3 separate regions of the Homo sapiens genome follow, and regions 1 and 2 are each linked to region 3. The links are contacts of gene promoters, found by promoter capture Hi-C in blood cells and fetal thymus (Javierre and others, 2016). All regions are on one chromosome and are shown on one strand. Each heading gives the region's core, a stretch centred on a gene start or on the middle of the fragment in contact. The rest is flanking DNA. Distances are from core to core; before and after follow the strand shown. Region 1 overlaps WWC2 (WW and C2 domain containing 2). Region 2 overlaps WWC2 (WW and C2 domain containing 2). Region 3 holds the start of WWC2-AS2 (WWC2 antisense RNA 2).

The links. The method cuts DNA at HindIII sites, captures the fragments that hold promoters and counts their contacts. A CHiCAGO score of 5 or more calls a contact.
Region 1: a fragment that was not itself captured here is called in contact with the fragment with the promoter of WWC2-AS2 in region 3 in 3 of 17 cell types (endothelial precursors, erythroblasts and megakaryocytes); the score reaches 8.4 in endothelial precursors.
Region 2: a contact is called between a fragment that was not itself captured here and the fragment with the promoter of WWC2-AS2 in region 3, in 1 of 17 cell types (endothelial precursors). The highest score is 5.3, in endothelial precursors.

The regions. Positions count from the first base shown.
Region 1 is chr4:183,203,837-183,208,114 of GRCh38, forward strand. It overlaps WWC2 (WW and C2 domain containing 2), which reads left to right. Exons shown (of 23, transcript NM_024949.6): 3 at 4,117-4,278. Among named protein-coding and RNA genes, the nearest start is that of WWC2-AS1, 35 kb to the right of the region's middle. The HindIII fragment of the contact is 637 bases long and covers 1,846-2,482 here.
Region 2 is chr4:183,185,301-183,189,646 of GRCh38, forward strand. The region is part of intron 1 of WWC2 (WW and C2 domain containing 2); the gene reads left to right. Among named protein-coding and RNA genes, the nearest start is that of WWC2-AS1, 53 kb to the right of the region's middle. The HindIII fragment of the contact is 3,983 bases long and covers 969-4,346 here.
Region 3 is chr4:183,097,739-183,101,711 of GRCh38, forward strand. WWC2-AS2 (WWC2 antisense RNA 2) reads right to left here and starts at 1,461. Exons shown (of 1, transcript NR_024008.1): 1 at 1-1,461. It overlaps WWC2 (WW and C2 domain containing 2), which reads left to right and starts at 1,519. Exons shown (of 23, transcript NM_024949.6): 1 at 1,519-1,884. The coding sequence starts at 1,754. RefSeq lists an enhancer at 278-572 and a silencer at 278-572. The HindIII fragment of the contact is 3,980 bases long and covers 367-3,973 here.

The sequences.
Region 1 (4,278 bases), core at 914-3,413, 110 kb after region 3:
TTCTTCCTCTCATTTCTCCCCTGCCTTGCCCATACACACAGTGTTACTAAGAGCCGCCATCACAGGAGGGTATGAGTAGTACAGTCCAAGACCAAACTTCTTCAGTTTCCATTTGCATAGATTATACAAGGGTATGTTGGGTTGAGTTCTCTCAGAAGCAAACCCTAAGCCAAGAATTTAAGTGAAAGTGGTTTATGAAGGAAATCCCAGGATAAACCAGTAAGGAAATGAGGAAAGAAAGAAAGTGGAGGGAAAAAAACAGCTGAAGGTTTTATTTCTGCAAAGTCTCTGACTCCACATGATTGTGGTGGCTCTAAAGTACAATTTCTACCTCAGAGTTTGCCCTACCTGGGAGTTCTTTCTGTCTTCTTCACTTGTCAGTCATTGGCTGCAGGTGAGTTAGCGAAGTGCTCTAGAGCAGTCAGACATCCATCAACAACAAACAGCAGGCTGTGGCAGAAAGACCCGAGAATACCAGGATAGGACACCAACAGTGTCTGCTACAAAGGCTGCATCAGAAAATATTCGTCCATATTTCAGCCTCTTTTTACAATCGAGAGACATGAGAGTAAGAGAGGTAAAATACTTAGAGTCTCACATCTGGCTAGGTGGATATGGAACCCACACGGCCTTACTCCCTAACCAGTGCTCTTTTCAACAGCTGGTAGTGGCAAAGGATTTTATTGCTGTTCCATTATACCTCATTTCTCTTTATCAGTCATCATCAGTCATTCATTTGAACCTTGTAAAGCATATTTTAATAATAAACTGTAAATCAGCTTTATTATTATATACAAATACATAAATTGCATCTATTTTCACTATACAATTCATGAGTTTTGACAGGTGTATACCATGTAACTATCACAATAATCAAGATAGGGAACATTTCCATCCCCTCAAAAAGAGCTTTCTTCTTGCTCTGTTGTAACAAGTACTTCTCAGTACTGCTGGGCCCAGGCAATCACTTTCTGTCATTGGATTGGCTTTACTTTTGCCCGAATTTCATATAAATGGAATCATACAGCATGTGGTCTTTTGTGTCTGGCATCTTTTCACTCAACATGTGTTTGAGAGTCTTATATATTGCTGTTGAGTATTTTGTTTCATTTTATTGCTGAGTAGTATTTTATTGTATGGATATACCACAGTTTGCTTAGCCATTACCTGTAATAGTTTTGTCTATTATGAATAAAGCTGCTAATGAGCATTTGTTTAGAGGTCTTTTTGTAGATACATATTTTCATATCTCTTGGGTAAATAACAAGTTGTAGGATTGCTAGGTTGTATGGTAATTGCTAAGTTGTTCTCCAAAGTGATTGGACCATTTTAGATTCCCGGTAGCAATGAATGAGAATTCCAATTGCACCACATCCTCTTCAACACTTGGCATTGCCAGTTTTTAAATTCTAGCCATTTTACATAGTGAGCAATGGTATCCCATTATAGTTTTGACTTGTATTTCGCTGATAATTAGTGATGTTGAGTCTCCTTTCATCTGCTTACTGGCTATTTGCACAATAGTCAGTAGATGTGCAGGTTTATTTTTGGACTCTATTCTGTTGCAACATAGCTGTTTTATCTAGATTATGCTTATTCCATCCTTTCTACATTTCGAGATCTGTTTCTATTGACTGATTTTTCTCCAGATTATGGGCCATATTTTTGTGCTTTTTATGTTGGTAACATTATAGTGGATGCTAGACATTATAAAGTTGGTTTTGTTGTTGTTGTTTTCATTGAGTGCTAGGTTTTGTGCCTTTTAGGGAGTTTTATATTTTTTTTCTTCTGACCGGCAGTTAAGTTACTTGCTGACCAGCTTGGTCTTTTAGAAGCTTGTTTCAAAGCTTTGTTAGGTTAGGTTCAGAGTAGCCTTTACCCTATGTCTTATTTAGCTCTGTTGTTAAGGTGTAACTTTGCTGTGGTCTCCACTGGATTCCCTAGATGTTCACTGTGGCCTTTCTCCTCTGGCTGGTCATAATTTGAAACTGTCACAGCCCTGTGTGAGCTCGGGGAATTTATCTGCCTATAGCGTCCCAGTTGTCCTTTGCCTGGCCTTGTGCATTTCCCGTTGTCATCTCAGCATTCACTCACAGACTTCTTGTGACCCCTGTGCAAATTTCTGGAACTTCTCCAGTCTCTGGAGCTTCTACTGTGCTTTGCTTTACAAATTCCACCTGTCATGGCTTCCGTGAAATCTGCTTCCCTCTCCCTGCAATTCAGCAGTGCCTCCTTTCTCTGCTTGAGTTACCCCTCTTTGCACTGCTGTCCAAAAAGTGCTTTCAGACAGAAATGTAGGGTAATCGTGGGGTTCATTTCCCTTCTCTCAGAGATCACAATCCTGTACTACCTGTTGTCCAACATCTGAAAACCATTGTTCATATATTTTATCTTCTAGTTACAGTGGCCCTGTTATTCCACCATGGCCTTCTTTGTGTTTTGCTTTGTTTTTTAAAAATCTCTATTAACCTTTTGTGTATCAAGCTTCATGTGTTTTCTGTATTAAAGCCATACTTCTTTTTGTCCCAAATTATCCCCTGTTTGTGTTTGCTGTTGTTGGGAGTGGGGTCCACTCGGATACAATATCCTGCTAGAGACGAGATCTTAAGTCACAATACCATAGTTTTTATGCCTTTGAACTATTCCACTTTTATTTTAAAACATGTATTACTGAATACTACACACAGAAAAGTGCATAGACTGAAATAACATAGTTTAACAAATATTTTAGAAGTGAACTGTGTAATTTCGATGGGTGAAAGAAATAGAACATCAGCATCCAGGAAACCTCTTTTATTTACTCTGTCCCATTCTCAACCCCTTCCTCTACTGGCAAATGGCCACTCTCCTTTCTTTCACAGCAGAGGGGTCCAGTACATGTCTGCAGACACAGGGGGATAGCTCTTAACCAGCCTGCACTAACCATCACCAAAACTGTCCGTTCTCTTGTATACACCATGGTATCCCAATGCTGGACAGCAGTACACTCCAACTCCTTGGCCCAACATGTGGTCAAAAAATATGTTAATTTTAAAATGTGAGAACATAAAATGTTTAGGGTAATCTGATTCTTTCATTTTTGTTTTTCTTCATGTTTTGTGGCCCCTACTGTAGCTTCACCACACAGTAAAGAATGTGTTTGGAGTTTATAAACTGAGCATAAGCTGCCATGGAAGACAGAGGATAAAGGGCTGACTTGCAGATGAGGTGGCTGGGGCACCTTCTGGAGGAGGCAGCATGTGAATGCTGTTGCAGAACACTGGTTCTTGGGCTCGGCTGCTCAATGGAATCACCTGAGCAGCTTTGAAATCTACCGTGCCTGGGTTGCATCCACAGAAACTCTAGTTGGTCTGGGTTTTTTTTTTTTAAAAGGGTCTCTGGTTGATTGTAGTTTGTGGAAGTGCAGAAGCAAGAACCAGGGCCTTAGGCTAGAGCATTCTGTATAAACAGGACCAGGGTTCTGTTTGTTTGTTTATTTTTAAATTTCAGATCCACTGCGGACTCACTGATATTTTTGTAAAATACAAGAAAAAGTGAATTACTGGAAAAGTGAAAATGTATACACACAAAGAAATGCATAGTATTTATCAACAGATAAACAATAACTGACTAAAATCGCTATAATGATTACAAAATGTTTTCTATTTCTGTCATTACTGTTGCGGACATAAAACTGAGTTCATGGACTGGTGTTGGTCTGCAGAGTAGACCAACTTTGATTAGTGCTGATGCAGAGGGCAGTGTGTCTACAGTCCTGTATTAGGTGAATGAAGGTGGGTTGGGTCCAGCTTATGCAGGGCATTGAGTGCTGGAATGAATAGCTTGGCTTTTATTCTGTAGGCACTGGGGAGCCACAGAATTCTTGAATGATCTGATTGACAACATTGTGTGTGGTAGATTTATAGTGAGAATACACTGTTGATCAGAACCTGGAAGAGGAAGGAAGTTGATGAGACTGGGTAAAATAAAACTAAAATTTCTGGAGAAGTCACTCCAGCACAGCTAAATAAACTCCTTAGAGGATACAAGAACTTAAGCTAGCCTACTCCCTAAAGCTTAAACAAGCCGGAAAACAAAGTTAAATTCTAAAAAGTACCCTCCACCTAATGTTTTCAGAAACCACGCAGATAGAAGATCCAAGAAAACAATGGAGGGGGGAACAGGAGAAGATGCTCAAGGACTACCTCTCTGTGGCACAGGATGCCCTCCGGACACAGAAGGAACTGTACCATGTGAAGGAGCAGAGGCTGGCGCTGGCCCTGGATGAATACGTGCGAT
Region 2 (4,346 bases), core at 1,710-4,209, 89 kb after region 3:
AATGTTGGTCTCATTAGCACCAACTTTTTTTTAGCTTAAGTAGTCAGACAATATGAACAATTAACTTGGAATCATGTTATAACCTCCTATTTAAGAAAGCATAAAGCATACAGTTTTGCCTAGAAATTGCTATTTGGTTTACAAATCACGTAAAAAAGAGGAAAGTATTTTTCAAAAGCGACTTTTGATCTTTGGCCAAATACTGAAGTAATTTAAGAGGCACATACCCATGATGTATATTTTTCCTGTTATTTGTAATTTTTCAATTTTTTGGCCCTGCTTTTCATGAGCTATGTTTCCTTTTATTCGTAACTAGACTTTATTTTTTACTTCTTCAGAGCCAACATTGTGAAGGTTTTTAGTGTGAAGGGCTATGCGGCAGAGCTTGCAACCACTACTGCCCTATGTACAAATGTTGACTGGAGAGATGTGTGTGTGTGACCCTAACACATGCTTATTTGGAGAGGAGTGTTTATTTTTTTCTCTGCCCAGGCTATTCAAATGGAAAAAGTATACCTACTTTGCAGAGTTTTATGTATGTACATTTATGTATATTAGAGCATGTGTGGTACATGATAAACATTCAGTAAGTGTTTTATATTATTAATATAATTGCTGTATGTAAAATTTGACCTTTAACATAGATTTTTTTTTTTTTTTTTTTGGTGACGGAGTCTCACTCTGTCACCCAGGCTGGAGTGCAATGGCGCAACCTCGGCTCACTGCAAGCTCCATCTCCCGGGTTCACGCCATTCTCCCACCTCAGTCTCCCGAGTAGCTGGGACTACGAGCGCCCCCCACCACTCCCAGCTAATTTTTTGTATTTTTAGTAGAGACAGGGTTTCACCATTCACAGGATGGTCTCGATCTCCTGACCTTGTGATCCTCCCGCCTCAGCCTCCCAAAGTGCTGGGATTATAGGCGTAATCCACTGTGCCTGGCCTAACATAGAATATTGTAAGCATTGAAGCTTTTGCAGATACTATATCTGGATCCCAAAACCCAACAGCATGAGCCATGTGCTTTTTCAAAGGCAAATCACCCACAAATACTGTCTTTCAAGAGTGTATTCGTGAAGTAACTGTAGGATTAAGTGTTAGATGGCAGAAGGGAAATTCTATGATAGGGCCTCCTAAAGTCCTCCTGTTTACAGCCTCTAGGTTAGGATGAGGGAATGGTTAGGAATGGTTAGTAAGTGAATGTCAAAAGAAGAATCAGAAGGTTTGAGGAAAGGTTTTTTAGGGTAGGGGGCATTGAATATAGACTGAAGGAGAAAAAATTAACCATATGAGAAGAGATAAATATCAGATAATGAGAGATGGAATGAGACTGCAGAGTAGAGAGGAGCGGCTGGGGTAAGGGCAGGAGACTGGCAGGCTAGCCTGGAGGAGGGGATGCGAGACATGTAGAGAGGAGTGGGGTGTGTGGGTCTCAGGGAGCAGACCTGGGAGACAACACAGTTGTGTTCAGATATTTGAAAGTCTGTCATGTGGAGGAGGTATCAAACTAATTCTCGTTGGTACCAGGTGACAAAACTCATGCCAGCTGTAGGAGGACCAGACCTAGGACCAACAGAGGGGAGAATTGTCTGAGGACCCAAGCAGGTGCAGACATAACATGAACTAATCTGAAGAAGTGATCTTGGTTAGGCTACCTCGTTATGTTTCCTGCCAGCTCTGTAGCACTGGGTGAATCATTTAAATCTTGGAGCAGCAGTCTCCTTCCTAACCCATTGCACCAGGCTAGGGGCTTTCCTGGCCAAGTCCTAGGGTGACAAATTAGTTATCTGCTTGGCTGTCCTCACCTTGGCTCCCCAGGGCAAGCACCAAATCCTTTCCTTGTTATATCCCCCCACTGCACACAGACAGGATCTAAAACACAGGATTTTGTGACACGTTTTACGTTTCACATAAAACACAAAATTCTGGATGTGTCACATACAGAATTAAATCTGTAAAAAACGGGAATAGGGGCTGGGCGCAGTGGCTCACGTCTGTAATCTCAGCACTTTGGGAGGCCGAGGCGGGTGGATTACCTGAGGTCAGGAGTTTGAGACCCGCCTGGCCAACATGGTGAAACCCTGTCTCTACTAAAAATACAAAAATTAGCTGGGCATGGTGGCACGCACCTGTAGTCCCAGCTACACAGGAGGCTGAGCAGGAGAATCGCTTGAACCTGGGAGGCGGAGGTTGCAATGAGCCGAGATTGTGTCACTGCACTCTAGCCTGGGCGACAGAACGAGACTCCGTCTCAAAATAATAATAATAATAATAATAATAATAATAATAGGCATGGTGCGGTGGCTCACACCTGTAATCCCAGCACTTTGGGAGGCCAAGGTGGGTAGATCACCTGAGGTCAGGAGTTCGAGACCAGCCTGACCAACACGGAGAAACCCCATCTCTACTAAAAATACAAAAAAATTAGCTGGGCGTGGTAGCGCATACCTGTAATCCTAGCTACTTGGGAGGCTGAGGCAGGAGAATCACTTGAACCTGGGAGGCAGAGGTTGCAGTGAGCCAAGATCGTGCCATTGCACTCCAGCCTGGGCAACAAGAGTGAAACTCCGTCTCAATAAATAAATACATAAAAATAAAAAAAAAAGAGACCAGAAATACCCATTTTGAAGGGTTGTTATTAGGGCTAAATGAGATAACATATGAAACAACCTTGCATAATTCTTGGAACATAATAGACAACTAATAAAATTAGTTTCTTTCCTTTCTGAAAAAATTAGTATGTCACAAAATGATTTTCAAAATATTGAGTAACTGTTCTAGTAAACAGTAATATAAGTTGCCAGACACCCAAAAGGGCTCATGGCAGGAAGAACGGGGGAGTGAGGCTAGATTGGAGCCTCCAGATGTTGCCAAGTCTATTTTTTTGTCTTTAGGTAAAAATGATCTTAGGAAGAGATGATTCTCCCCATTGTGACGTGTTCTTTTGTTTTGTTTTTGAGACAGAGTCTCGCTGTGTCGCCCAGGCTGGAGTGCAGTGGCACAATCTTGGCTCACTACAACCTCCACCTCCCAGGTTCAAGAGTTTTCCTGCCTCAGCCTCCCGAGTAGCTGGGATTACAGATGCCCACCACCACACCTGGCTAATTTTTGTAATTTTAGTAGCGATGGATTTTCACCATGTTGACCAAGCTGGTCTTGAACTCCTGACCTTAAGTGATCTGCCTGTCTCAGCATCCCAAAATGCTGGGATTACAGGTATTAGCCACTGCACGTGGCCCATTGTGACCTATTCTGATATCTAATGTTTGTTTTCTAGAAATTCTATCTAATATGATCTCTCTCTCTCTATCTAATATGATCTCTCTCTCTCTCTTGCTCCTTTCTTTTTTTTTTTTTTTTTTTGAGACGAAGTCTCGCTCTTGTCCCCAGGCTGGAGTGCAATGGCCCGATCTTCACTCACTGCAACCTCCACCTCCCGGGTTCAAGCGATTCTCCTGCCTAAGCCTCCTGAGTAGCTGGGATTATAGGCATGTGCCACCACGCCTGGCTAATTTTTGTATTTTTAGTAGAGACGGGGGTTTCACCAAGTTGGCCAGGCTGGTCTCGAACTCCTGACCTCAGGTGATCCGTCCACCTTGGCCTCCCAAAGTGCTGAGATTACAGGCATGAACCACCGTGCCTGCCCCTCTAATATGACTTCCTTCCAATCATTTAAGCTAATTTCCTCACACACAGGGAAGGAATCTCATTATTATCTTCCAAAGTGGTTTGTATAATTTTTCTTGAAAGCCATTTTTTTTCTTGTTGCCTCCATCCACTGTTTTCTACTATTTTCCTTTGTTTGTTTCTTTGTGTTGCTAGTTTCCCTATCTAGTGATAGATAGAAGTTGTTGGCCAGGCGCAGTGGCTCATGCCTGTAATCCTAGCACTTTGGGAGGCTGAGGGAGGTGGATTGCCTGAGGTCAGGAGTTTGAGACCAGTCAGGCCAACATGGTGAAACCCCGTCTCTACTAAAAATACAAAAAAATTAGCCAGGCGTGGTGGCGGGCGCCTGCAATCCCAGCTACTCGAGAGGCTGAGGCAGGGGAATTGCTTGAACCAGGGAGGTGGAGGTTGCAGTGAGCCGAGATCGCGCCACTGCACTGTGGCCTGGGTGATAGAGCGAGACTCAGTCTCAAAAAAAAAAAAAAAAGTTATTTCGAGGGAACTAATTGACATCATTATAAATGAAGATTCTTTTAGGACTGTGGAAAGATTTCTAGTGCTTTATCCTTGCTTTAAAATTCAAGTTGTGAAACACATCTTTACTTCCTCCCTGTTCTCTTAGAGCAATTCAGTGATGTTTCTGTGAGCAGATTCTGTAGTAATCATAAGCAGTTGACAGGA
Region 3 (3,973 bases), core at 211-2,710:
CGGACAGCTACTGCCCACGCCGCGCAGGCCAGCCTCACACAGTAGCGAATCTCCTTCACGCGACTTCCTCGCAGGCCTGTGAACCCGCAGGGGAGGCGGAGGTCGGTTCAAACCCTGCGAGAGCCCCTGCCCAGCGCGGAGTCCTGCACACGGTGGAAAGTCCTTACGCATTAGCGGGCAGGATTAAACGACTTCACACCACGAGGTGCAAGACTGGGCTTCGGGGCCTTCCTCGGTGTTGCTATTTTAAAAGAAGCTGCTCAGTAACCCAGAAGAAGATGACGGGGGACGGTGGTGTAGACCCGGCTGGAGAGGAGTCCAGGGCCTGGGAGGCGCCCCCTCTGACTGAGGGGCTGGGGACCCTGAAGCTTGGCGTCCAGGCCCCGCCAGCGCTGCACCCGGCATTGTCCCGCCTGGGGCAGGCGTCCGGTCCCTCGGCAGTGCGGGCCAGCACGTACGTAGTAGCTGCTGAATAAATAAATGCCTATGCAACAGGGAACGTCCCGGCCCACCCCGGCCGGGCCAGGGCCTAGGAAGGGCGGGCGTCCGGCGCCGCCGTGGGTCCCTCCGGCGTGGCCGCCCACACCTCCTGGCCACGGCGGGGCTGCGGTGGGGGGACATCCTGGGGCGGGCGGCTGGACGGAAGGGACTAGAGTCGGGGCGCGTCCACGGCCAACCGCCCCGAACCAAGCAGGGGAGGCCAGGGACCAGGAGCTTCCGGGGCCCCGCGGCTGGAGCGCCCGGACGCGAAGGGGCGGCGGGTGACGGGGCGCGGTGCGGGCGGCTACAGGGCCGGACGGGAGTTCCTCCGCTTTCCGCCGCGCGGCTCGCGGTCTCAGCCGAGGTCATCGAGGGCCAGGAGCCCTGGCGGAGGCCCCGCCGTCCCGGACCCACCGACGCACTCCCAGGGCTTGGCGCTTTCCCACCACCCCGGACCGCCCTTGGGGTGCCGGAGGGGCTCGGGGCGCGGCGTGGGGAGCCTTTGTGCCCTCTCCGCTTGTTGAGGTTTTTTCTCCGGAGGAGAGCTCCCCGCCCGCCACCCCTTTCCTCTCGAAAGTTTTGTGGTTTCCCTAGAAGACGAAAGAGGTTGAGAAGGTTGCGGAGACTTTTGCAATCTTCCCCGTCCAGAAACTCTAAAACCTCTCGGCGTTTGGCCCAGGGGAGCTATCTGGGGTCAAGGGGAGGGAGCTGGCCGCACATTCCTTCGCCCGCCTTCCTCCCACCTGGAGCCGCGGCCCCGCGGGGCAGTGCGTCCGAGCTGGTGCGGCGACGCCGGCAGCGGCGGGGTTAAGCTCAGGAATGCGGCGCGAGGAATGCGCATGCAGATGAGGCGGGCGGGCGCATGCTAATCGCATGCAAATGAGGGGCCCGCCGCTGCCGCGGCAGCGCCGCAGCTTCCCGGATCCGAGCCCAGACGGCGGCGGCTCCGGCAGCCTGGGCGCCGCGACCCTCGGCGGCCAGAGGGGGACGGGGCGGAGGAGGAGGAAGAGGCGGAGGCAGCGGCGGCGAGGGGGAGGAGGGTTCGCTCGCCGGCTCCGACGCAGACATGGTGGACTGATCCGCAGCGGGGCCGCGAACAGCGTTTCCTGAGGCACCTCCCGCGCGTGGTTCCGCCGCGCCCCGCGCCCTGCGCCCCTCAGCCCCTCGCCGGCGCCCGCGTCGCGGGTTGGCAGCCTAGCCCGGCAGCCGCGTTCCCGCCGCGTCCCGCGCCCGGTACCTATGGAGGCGCCGCTCGCCGGCGAGGCCGCCGACCATGCCTAGGAGGGCCGGGAGCGGTCAGCTGCCGCTGCCCCGGGGCTGGGAGGAGGCCAGGGACTACGACGGCAAGGTCTTCTACATTGACCACAACACCAGGAGGACCAGCTGGATCGACCCCCGGGACAGGTGGGCGCCGGCCGCGGGGGCGCGGGCCCGTTCGGACACGGCGGCTGTTGTCCCGGAGACCCGGCCGCGCGGGGGGCTGGGGCGGCGCCGGCCCGCGGTGCCCCGAGGGGTCCCGGGAGGGATGTGGGGCTGGCTGCTCCGGCGGGGCCGAGGAGCCGCCCGTACCCGGGCTCCTCCGCCCACCGGCTTCCCGACGCCCCTCCGGGGACCCGGCCCCGAGGCAAGGCTGGAGTCGCTGCCCCGGGCCGACGCCGCGCGCCAGGCTAACGGACCCGAGGGGCCACCTGAGCCCTGTTAGGAACTTCCCTAGGCTTCGAGGTGCCCACGTGGAGGCTGCAGGACACCTTCGGCCTCTGGGCGGCGGGGGTGGGCTAGGGCCTCACTGCCAGTTGGGGAACGAGCCCTCCGGGCCACCTGTGGCATCCCTCAGGCCGTCCTTGGCGCGGGAGCCTGGGCTGCGAGCTCTTGGCGGGGGCGCCCAGACTGGCCGGAGGTCCCGAGCTGGGAAGGGGCTCCCGCCCCCCGCCGGGCCCTGCTAGTGGGTGTGACTGACTTTGCCCCTCAGAGTTTAAAAACGCGCGTTTGGGGGTTTCGCTGTCTGTCGTTAGTCTTCACCTGAAAACTTGAACCGACTCCCAGATCGGGAACAGGCATATTGTGTTTGGAAGGGAGATGTAGTGAAATTAACGTTGGGTATTGAGGCACTCTGATTTGAGCTTAGCCTGGTTTCTTTGTTTTTTGTTTTTTAAATTGGTTCAGGAACTGAAGGTTCACAAATGTTTCTGTGTCCCATATTTTTTTTACCCTTAAAATTTCTTAGAATTATTGTAAGAATAATAGGAGGTATTCCTAATTATAAATTTGTAAATTATCCATTAAGGAGATATTCCTAATTGTAAATTTAAATAACGTGCCACCAGGGATAACTTCGACATTTGGACTTTTGTCATTTCTGAAAATTATAACTTTATTGAATGTGGCCCTTTGGGCTTTATATACTTTTTAGGTGCTTCTCCTATTTAACATTTTCCCTTTTCTCAATTTGAAGCTGAAATACCTAACTACTTTATAATCTCAGTTACTTTTGCCCTAAAAATGTTGTTTTTGAAAGCTACTAAAAGGCAATTACAAGAAAGTTATAAATAACATTATAAATTTATGGAACAATCCTTGTTCAATTATCCGTGAAGCTACGGGCCTAGGTTTCCCTCCTGAAATGAGAAAAGGCACCTGTGCTGAGGTTCGGTCTTGCCGCAGCCTGGCTGCCTGTTGCTGGCCTGATGAAAATTGTGACAGGCATCACACCTTCCCAGTGTCTCCAGACGTGCTAGTTGTTGTCATAAACTTCACGCTCCAAGCCAGTTATTTGACTTATGCTATTGCACTTTGAAACTACTTAACAGATAGTAAATGTCAGTGCTGATGGTGTGCACCCAACTGCGGCTTTTAAGGCACCTGTATAAATATTTGACTTTTACAGTTGTGTGGTAATTCTTTCTGCTTTCTGATACTTGGAGTTTCAGGTAATTGAAATAACAATAAATTCTTGAAATATTTAGGCATTCTAGGTTCTCTTCTTCGGTTTACATGCTTTACTATATTATCTCAGTTGTGTTTACCGGAAAGGATTACAAGAATATGTAATGTCTGGGTAAAGTAAATAGAAAGTGGAGTGAAATTATATGACTTGGCTATCCATATCACTACTTTTTTCACAAGTCAAGCATGTCCTTTATTTTAAACTCTTAATGGATTAGTAATTATTATGAACTATTTTCAGGAAACTGGATAAACAATTCATTGGATAGGGACAAATAGTTTTGACTAAGATAGCTTTTTATTTTTCCAATTTTCCTTGCAGCTGTTAGGTCTTAAATATTCAGAGACATAAATTTGACGACTTACAAATATTTCTGGATCTCAGAGTTTTAAAAGATACTCTGTTGAGATCAGAGTCACCATTATATACTCAGTTTAAATTTGATTATATTTTCTTTTAGGGCAATTAAGTGACTAAATCTTACTAAATAGAGTAAGAGCTGATGGGAACGTATATTTGGAGTAACTATTAACTCCTGTCAGTTTTGTT